Regions from separate parts of the Homo sapiens genome. Here region 2 is linked to region 1. The links are contacts of gene promoters, found by promoter capture Hi-C in human tissues and cell types (Jung and others, 2019). All regions are on one chromosome and are shown on one strand. The core of a region is centred on a gene start or on the middle of the fragment in contact, and the rest is flanking DNA. Distances in the headings are between cores, read along the strand shown. Region 1 holds the start of COL25A1 (collagen type XXV alpha 1 chain). Region 2 overlaps COL25A1 (collagen type XXV alpha 1 chain).

Region 1 (4,891 bases), core at 854-3,353:
CGGCAACTGGGTATTTTGGCTTGGGGAGACTGGATGGATGGCAACTCCATTGGCTGAGATGGGAAACAGAGGAAGCAGACAGAATTTGGAGGTAAGCTGCAGGTTACATTGGAAATGAGAGTGAGACATCCAAACGGAGATGACAAAGAGGCAACTGGCTATATGGATCTGAGGTTCAGGAGAGAGGTTTGGGCTTTTGATATGAATTTATGACTCATCAGTGTAATGGGAACTCTACTGGAGAGAGTATACAGAGAAGATGGAATAGACAGAGACCCAAGGAGCACCAACTTTCAGAGAAATGAAAGAGGAAAAGCCTGCAAATGAGACTAAGGAACAGCTAGAGGTTACAGAAAGAGTTTGTACATTAAAATATTTGTACCCATTATTTGGGTCCTGTTATTGGAAACATGTTTAATCACAATTAAATGTGACTTGAAATTTATCTGTTTTAAAATTTATTTAAAAACGTTGTTTATATTTAAAAGAGGAACAGTAAATCCTCACATCGCAGGGTTATGAGGTTCAAATACAAAAAGTATTTGAAAATATTTTGGAAAGTATTATACCAGTGGTTCTCAAACTTTAGTAGTATATATCAAAATCATTTGGAGGGCTTGTTAAAACACAGATTGCTGTTTTTTTTAAAATTATTATTTCAGTAGTGGTAGTAGCAGTTTCTGATTCAGATCTGTGGTAGGAACCTAGAATTTTAATGTCCAAGTTCTCAGGTGATGCTGATGTTATTGGTCTAGGACCATCCTTTGAGAACCACTGTGTAATACAAATGAATTATGGTTTTGACTTTATAGCCAAATTCATTGAGTTTTCCTCCAATGTTAGTCTCTTTCTTCCTCTAATGCTGTTATTTCCTTACCTTGCTTCACACCTAGCAATATCCGTTTACACATGTGAAAGACCAACTTAGTGAAGTATTTTGTTGACTGTTTACAATAGTAAGCAACGACTTCAGGTTAGCTTAATTAAGGAGAATAGGAAAAATATATGGTTTTTTTTTTTATAGGGAGATAAGAAGGAACTCTTTGGAATAAGAGGTGGGATTTCTGTTTTCCCCAAAGTCAATTAGATGTCAAATGCTACTTGTTACCAACTTTCCAAAATCCCATTAGAGACCTTGTAATTTGATCCAGAGAGAACAGCATTAAGAGTCAGGTAAAAGGAAAAACTGACTTCATTCTTCATTCCTTTCCTAAATCCTGAGAAATGTGTATACCTCAACACTCCCTTTTCCAATCCCGCAAAACAGGGAATCAGGAAAACACATTAGCACCCTAGTACAGACTAGGAATACAGAGCTGGGAGGAGACTCAGTGCCGTCAAGACAAGGAAACTGGGGGAGGGGAAGGAAAACTTCCCCTCGTTGGACAATCTGAGGGCTGCAGTGGGAAGAGAAGGGAAGTGGGGAAATGTACCTCAGACGTCGGCCAGACACTTTGCCTCTGGGCATGTGGGAAAGTGAGGGAGGAGGGAAAAGCGCTGCACCACAGCGAGATAGCAACAGCTCCTGCGGCTGCTTTTGAGTGAAGATCAGTAGAGATAGAGCGTGCCGCTTCACATCTTCCTCCCGGAGGCCATTTCTCCATTTTTATGTGGGATAAAAAGGGGGCGCTGGGCTGAGTCAGTATAAGCCAAAGTTGCCGCCTCTTGCGCAGCCGACCCCGCTTCGGCCCCGGCCCAGGCCAGAGAGGTGGCCCTCGGAGATGCTGAAGTTACTCCGCGCAGGGGGAGGGGTCGCCAGGCTCCTCTCCAATCACGGTGGCCGCTCCAGCTATTTGCATACATTATGCTAATAACAGACCTCCTGCCCCGCTCCCACCCAAGCTTCCCGCCTCCCTTGGGGGTTCCCCGGGCCGGCCCGCGGGCTGGGCCAAGGTGAATACATTATGATAATAAGGCGGGCTCCTGCTTTGCCTTCGGAAGGGGGGCGCGCAGCAGCGGGAGCGGCAGGCCGGACGCCGGGCGCCGGGAGGGGGTCGGGGGAGGGACGTCGTGCTCGGAGCGCGCGCGCACTCACACACTCACACACACACTCACGCGAGCATCGCGAAGGGTATTTAAGGATCGCGCACGCGGGGCTGCGGAGATCCTTCGGGCAGCCGCGACTTCGGCTTCGCGAGTAGCATTGGTTCCTTGGGTTTATTTCGTTTTCCTCTCTCTTCTCCACCTTAGTCGCCCCTTTCGCGCTGCGCTGTAGCGTGCTCTCACAGCCTTTTTGCCTTGAACTGAATGCAGGTGGGAAACAGGTCGGCGTGCCGAAAGACACCGAGTAGGTAGAAATAAGGCAAACTCACAGAGGCGCAACAGGTCCGGTCCTCCGTGGCCAGGGCGAGCCGCGGCCCCGCGTGGCGCCTCGGCCGTTGCCCTCGGACCCTGAGCGGCCACTGTTGGGGCCCTCGAAAGAGGTGTCGGTCCTCTGGGAGTCGGAAGAGCTGTCTGGGTGGGTTTCGTCTTGCTTTTTACCCCACCGCCACCCAGTCCCCGGACGGAGGGTGCTTTTCACTTCCAGCTGGGAGGAGAGAAGAAAGCGGGGATGGTGCACGCCTGCGGGTCTGGACGCTGAGCAAGGCAGGGGTCCGTATCCGCTCGTGGGCTTGACTCCACCAACTAGTTGTGCAGCCACAGGGACTGAACTTTGGAGGAATCGACCTTTTTCTTTCCTTTTAGGATTATTTGAGGTGTAGAGGGTGGGAAGCGAAGCCGAGACGGCCGACCCCGCCACGATGCTGCTGAAGAAGCACGCAGGGAAAGGAGGGGGCCGGGAGCCCAGATCCGAGGACCCGACCCCTGCCGAACAGCATTGTGCCCGGACCATGCCCCCGTGTGCCGTCCTGGCGGCCCTCCTGTCAGTGGTGGCCGTGGTGTCTTGCCTGTACCTGGGTGTGAAAACCAACGACCTCCAGGCGAGGATCGCCGCTCTCGAATCCGCCAAAGGGGCCCCTTCCATTCATCTGCTGCCTGATACCCTGGATCACCTCAAGACTATGGTGCAAGAGAAAGTGGAGCGACTTCTGGCTCAGGTGTGAGAGGCTGGGGTATTTTGCACGTGGGTAACATCTTGTACAAGCGTGACTCTGTGTGCATGACTAGCCGCTACCCTTACTGTACCCATACTTGGTGTGGCTGTGTGTGTGCGCGCGCGTGCATGTGTTGGCCAAGGATCTATGCTCACTGTAGCATATATTTATATGTGCACATCCCTTGATGTCCCCATCCCTATCTCTAATCTTCCCTCACTCTCTCTTAATGTTTGCGTGTTAAACACATAGGAAGGTCTAAAAGGGTTCGGAAAGGGCATTTTATCTCTTTTTAGTTGTCCTAAGTCAAACCCAATTGTGGAGAGAATATTTCTTGCAGAGATAGCATCTGTTAAATCTTTTACATGTTGTAAGATGGTTAGGGTCATAGATGTTATTAATATATAAAAAAGGTAATCACTCTTAAATGTAAAATAATGTCATATATAATTTAAAATCAATAATTTCACACGTTGAATCTTTTCATATTAAAAGTTTAAACTTTTTTTTTTTAAAGTAGCTTTATTTTTGGTAAAGGATGCAGTGCCGGGGTATTTATGAATGCAGAGCCCTTGGAATTGAGAGTTGAGAGGAATCTATGTTATGTGTAAGGGTACCTTTAGACTAGAGTAAGGGGGTTTTCTGGAACCTTACCCTAGCCGGGAGCCTATTTGGCAGTAGTTGCAGCCTAGCATGATAAATAAAGCAGTTGACCTTCATGTATAAAATATTGGCTGTTATTGGTAAGCCACAGCTTACCTAATACTGCAACATTTTAGTGCTAGGTTTTTACATTGACTGCATATGCTTGAGCTGAGGGAGAGAGTGGTGGTAGAGAAGAATGGAGAAAGATGTTATACAAGTCCAGCAATCTTGATACCCTATCAGTGGTCATTTTCTTTTTTTAGGACTTAGGCATGGTTACTTTCTTGACTAGAGTCCAAGTACATATGTAAATGTTAGTTATGCAGGTTATGAAATGCCGGTAAATCAGGCGTATGGCCAGAGTCCCTAAAGACTCCATCCCTCTACAGTGCTACTGATGATTATTAATAACTCTTCTTTTCCTACAGAAATCCTATGAACATATGGCTAAAATAAGAATCGCAAGAGAAGCACCTTCAGAATGTAACTGCCCAGCAGGTAAAATGGAACTTATTTAACAAGGTTTCCTCCAGAGCAGAGCATTTTAAAACAAAGGTCCTGTGTCTGTCAAGTCTACCTGTAATAATAGTAAAGAAAGAATGCAGACCCAACTTGCTTTAATAAAATCAACATGTCTCATTCAAAAGGATGGCAAATAAAGCCCCAAATATTATTTTAAGCAGCATACCAAGGCCTGTTATGGGAAAGCAAAGGATATAATCACCAAAGAAAATATAGGCAAGGTGATGTACAAGGACAAACTTCTTAGATTCACAGATTGAAAAATATTCTTCAATTAAATTGTCTTAATGTCTACAGTGAAAAGGACTGTAGAACTGTTAGATTCTGAATTCCTGGCTCGCTCTTATTGTGTTAGTGCAGAGTTTTTTTTTTTTTTTGTTTTGGTTTATTCCCTTTGGCATACGTTTATGTTAGTAAACCACCTTCACTTCCTTTCCTGCTGTTTCTGTTCTATTAAAAAGATTCCATCTCCTATCCTATAGCTAGAGATGATGACTGAAAGAAAATGATTTCTTTATCTTGAGCTTCCCATTACAAACTCTTGCATTCTCAGTGACTTTTGAAGAAGAGGCTCTTATATTTTTACCTTTTTTTCCTGTGTAGCTTCAGGGAACTATATTAAAGGCAGCATATTAGTAGAAGGACAGAGAAGAAGGACATCATGAATAAGACCCCTGGGTAATCATTAA
Region 2 (4,891 bases), core at 1,792-4,291, 56 kb after region 1:
GGACAGCAGGTAGTTCATTAATACATTAATTATGCAAAGAACTACATTATGTTCTGGGTAATATGAATATATTAAAGACATGAGGTATGAAGATCACATGAATCTTGGCTTCAAGTTACTTATAGTCTATTAGGAGATGACGCATATAAGGAATTACAATGTGGGATGTTCATCATGTTCTATAACAGAGGTCCCAATAGAGTGCTGTAAGAATTTAGAGAAGAGTCATTACTTTTGCCTATGGAGCCTCAGAGAAACCTTCCTAGAGGAGCTGGTATTTGAGCTGGACTTTTAAAGGCGAGGCTAGATTTGAACAAAAGAAGACATTCCTGGACAGTGTCTACCATGTATGTAAGTTAGTTAAGTTGATAAAATATCTAGTCCTTATTACAATGTCTGGCACCTAGTGGATTTACATTAAGTATATGCTGAATAAGTCCATGAACCATGGAGTTAATTGTATGCCACTAGCTGACTGTCTCCCTTATATGAGGGATGTCAGAAAAGCAATCAGAAAATTTTTGGCCAGGAGCTGGCTTGAGTAGTGCTTCTTCTTATCAAGGACTTTAACTGCAGTTTCCTTACATTCATCTTTCCATCAACATTAACCATCATGCTTTGTCCCTGAAAAATGGTGCAGCTGCTTGGTGGCTATTTCACCCACCCCTCATTAATCAGCTGTTCACCGGAGAGCTGGACTGATGTCTGACAAACTTGATCCCCTGCAGGGCATGAGAGGAGGAGTAGTCTGGCAGCTGCGAAGTACTAGTGCTTTGGCTTGGCTTTACTGCATGGCATGGGTGGAGATAGATGGATGCTTATTTTCATGCCATTTATGAAAATAGGAAGATGCTGATTCTTTTTGTGTGGGATACTTCTGAAATGCTGTGTCAGCGGAGGCAAGCAGAGTATGGAGCTGAGTACAATGTCGCTCTGGATTCCTTGTCTTCACTGCTGCCAGTTGAATGGGTGGCTGGAACAGGGGACTTCATCAACACAATTGCCCTGATAACCAGTGAAGATTTCAGCCTCCTTCTAGGATCAAGATATATTCTGGACACACTTGTTAGTAAAATAAATCTTTACCATAGTTGAATATATGCATATTTATTGATGAAAAGTTTGAGAGTCTAAAAAAGGAAATATTAATTCTATTGAATACTCATAATTCTGAATAAGCTAGGTGAAGAATAAAAGGTTTCAAATTACCCTGGCTAAGGACTAGAGAATAATAGTAGTTATAATCGTAGCAATACATTTATATATATGTAAATATACATATATATTTACATTATATAGCAATACATTATATAGGCATGCGTAGAAGGTAAAATATTCTCATATATTATCTTGACTGTGGGACAATACGGGTTTTTCTCAGGTCTTTTCAACTCTTTTAGCAATTGACTCTGTTGACTATACCTCCTTCCGTGAACTTACTTTCCCTTGACTTTCATGACAGTAAGCTCTCTTGATTCTCTTCTTTCTGTTATCTCTCTCCCTTCTTGACCCGTTTCTTGCCTTTGCTGGCTAAAAGCATCCTTTGATGTTTTACTTGGATCTTGTCTCTTATGTTTCTGTATTCTTCCTCTTGGTGTCATCTGTTCTGGTGAATCTCAAATCTTTACTTTAGGTTTTGATCTTTTGAGTTGAAGACACATGTTTTTAACTACCTGGTGGTTATCCCATGTAGAATGCCTTAGTTTTACTTCCCACCTAGCATGTTCAAGACTGACTTCATCTGCTAAATATGCTCCTCCTCTATCTATCTATTTACTGTTTTTTCAGTATTAACTTCTTCCAGGTCTTCCTTTCCTATGATTCTAACATTCATTGGTTTTAAAGCCCTTGCATTGTACGTAAGCAATATTACATGTTCCCTAATTCAGGCCCAAGTGACTGTAGGCTTGTCTAATAGTTTGAGCTGGTCTTAATTGCTGTTTTGCTACATAAAAGCATTAACTGGCTTCTTTTCTTTCACTTTTCCTTACCTGACATTCAAGCCTTCCACGATGGGCTCATTTCCACATTTTCAATCCTCCCTCCCTCCTTTCCTTTTTTTTTCAGTCTTGCTCTGTCGCCCAGGCTGGAGTGCAGTGGTTCGATCTCTGCTCACTGCAAACTCCCCCTCCTGGGTTCAAGCCATTCTCCTGCTTCACTCAGCTTCCTGAGTAGCTCAGATTACAGAACCACACCAGGCTAATTTGGTGGAGATGGGGTTTTACCATGTTGGCCAGGCTGGTCTTGAACTCCTGACCTCAGGTGATCCACCCGCCTCGGCCTCCCAAAGTGCTGGGATTACAGGCATGAACCACCACACCCAGCCTCAAGCTTATCTTTCTTTACTTCCTTTTTCTATGTTCCAGCTGATCTGGAACACTTTAAATTTCTTAAATGCACAAACATCAAGCCTTTTTGTTTTAGGTCTTTTATTATATTATTCCCCTTTTAAATCCCAGTTCAGATGTAAGTTTCCTATATAGAAATAATTTGTTCATCTTCTGAACCTACCTTGCATTCCAGGGCATATTTTGTGCATTTTCCACGTAAGCTTGAAGATAGGACTCATGTTTGGTTTCATCCTTGTGTCCCTTACAAACCCTAGAACAGAGGCCTCCTCCTTAATGATTTAACAAGTTTATAAAGTAGATAAATAAATTAATGAAGAAGTTTAACACAGAATAGGTAAGAAAAAGAGAATAGAATCATATACAGGAAAAAAATGATCATAGTAGAGTCAATTTTTTAGAATAATTAAATTGGAATACAATTTAATTCTAAAATATTTATAAAATTTTAAGATTTGTTGAATGCCTATTCAGATTTTTTTAAATTTATAGATAAAGATATAGATGTACTAATTATCATAAACTTGATAGGAAAGTTGATACAGTAAAATATCAAATCACTTTTGAGAAAACAAGAATTCCTTGAGAATTGGTGGAGTACTCACTCATCAATTAGAATACCATTTACTGTCTTTACCCTGTTTGACTATCCAAGGTCAGAATTTCATTGATATAGATGAAAATGATGTAGTCTCTAGAGCTTACTTTTACTTTATTTGTTTACTGCTAGAACTAGTAGTTTTCTAGCTCTACCAGCTTACTGTATAGATTTGTCATTTGCATTTTATATCTCTGCTTAATTTTATATTAAGATATTGGCACTTACATGTAATACCTTGAGGACAATTTGAATATTAATCATTATAATCGTCATTGTTTTAAACTCTTGTATCTGAGCAGCCTTAGGAATTTGAAGTATCTGCTATGATAGTATCTATTTTCATGCTTAAGTCTTTTTTCCTACTTTAGGTACCCTTATTGCTGTTAATGTTTTCATTTTGTGTATTGTTTATGTTTTTTAAATTTTTTTTTTTTTTTTTTTTGCTTTTTAACAAAAAAGCAACTAGAGGTTCCTCTACTGAAAAACTAGTTTTCAGGCCTGGCCTCTGCATATCTCTCCTACCCATGGGCAAGGGCCCCTGGTCTTCCATCAGCCGGCCTAACCCTGATCCTGATCCCTGGGACAAATCCCTATCATGTGGTGTGAACTTGCCTGTCTTTAATCATTGAGTTGTTTTTTTGCTGCTACCTTTGGGGTATAGTTGTATTAACTGAAGCTCTGTCCTATTCCTGTTCCATGATTCTTGACATAGGACTTCTGTCTTTTTCTTTCAGATTTAATCCTTACGTTGTGCTGTAGTTTTTGTAAACAATCATCTGTTTGTTTTTAGCTGATACCCTGTGTTGGTAGCTGCCGCTGTACTCATGAACCCAAGCTTAAGGTAGACTTTGGTTCATAGCAGGTATTCATATAATGGTTATAGGTGATTGGATGATTAGATTCAGCCCTTTAATTCTAAGGGCTTACTGATTCTTTCCCTGCTTGTCTGGTACTCTGAAATGTTCCTGCATTTTATTCTGTCATCACCATGCTCCACACATATGATAGGATACCTTTGTTATTTCAAGTTTGGCTTCCACCATTGCCGACTTCTCCGGAGTGGCCTTTTGATAGATGCTTTGACTTCCAAAATAAACTTCCTTTCTGCACCTTCATACCAGTTAATTACCTCCTGTATACCAGTCCCAACCCAGAGGACCAAGTTCCTGGAGACCTTGCAGATTCCTATATTTGGCTATAACAAACTGGACCATATTGGTCTATGATAAGGATGTTCATATTTTCTAGGTTTGCCTAGGAAAGTTCTGGGGTTTTTTGCTTATTATTCTGGTATAATTATCAATAGGGCCTCCTTTACTCTCAAGGTATCTAGGTCTAGATAATAAAGTATATAATATGGTCACTTAAACCCTTCCTAAGTTATGACAGAAGCTGAACTCTTAAATTTTGTCTTAACTGTGTCAATTATAGTGCCATATTGAGAAAGTTGGAGGTTTACTTTTAAAAATCAGATTTTTAAAGTTATCCAGTGTATTAAGTGACTTTTAGTTTATGGCTATTTGAATAGAGATTATAAAAATATAAATATAAAGGTATCAAGACACAAAATATTTTTCTAGAGATCCACATATTTATTGGGCACTATATTATCATAGTATTAAGAGTTTCTGGGAAGCAAATTTTAAAAGATTTGCTTCATGCCCTTCATCAAATATTCTGTGAGGCAACGCACTACCCAGACACTTAATTTTAAACCTCTGTGATTGTATATGTTTAGTTATGTAAGCTCTTTTGGGGACTGCAGTGCAAGTTCTGCTGTTATTGAATCACTCAAGTGAAGAATGATAACAATTCTAAAAATACTGCATCTTGGGTATTTTTTTAAAAAGTGATCGGTTGCCTTTCATGTGCAGCATAGCAGAAAATAACTAGGCCCTCATAATTATTCTCAGGGCTGCAGTTTGTGAATTAAAACTTAAAT

What was found. Contacts are between HindIII fragments. The study calls those that stand out against the background at their distance.
Region 2: a fragment that was not itself captured here is called in contact with the fragment with the promoter of COL25A1 in region 1 in 1 of the 25 tissues and cell types used here (H1 embryonic stem cells).

Annotation. Positions count from the first base shown.
Region 1 is chr4:109,299,870-109,304,760 of GRCh38, reverse strand. COL25A1 (collagen type XXV alpha 1 chain) reads left to right here and starts at 2,103. Exons shown (of 38, transcript NM_198721.4): 1 at 2,103-2,592; 2 at 2,686-3,038; 3 at 4,109-4,178. The coding sequence starts at 2,742. COL25A1-DT (COL25A1 divergent transcript) reads right to left here and starts at 1,726. Exons shown (of 3, transcript NR_160939.1): 1 at 1,434-1,726. RefSeq lists an enhancer at 1,249-2,031. The HindIII fragment of the contact is 11,543 bases long and covers 1-4,891 here.
Region 2 is chr4:109,244,517-109,249,407 of GRCh38, reverse strand. The region is part of intron 3 of COL25A1 (collagen type XXV alpha 1 chain); the gene reads left to right. Among named protein-coding and RNA genes, the nearest start is that of COL25A1, 56 kb to the left of the region's middle. RefSeq lists a cis regulatory region at 598 and an enhancer at 514-683. The HindIII fragment of the contact is 4,025 bases long and covers 1,029-4,891 here.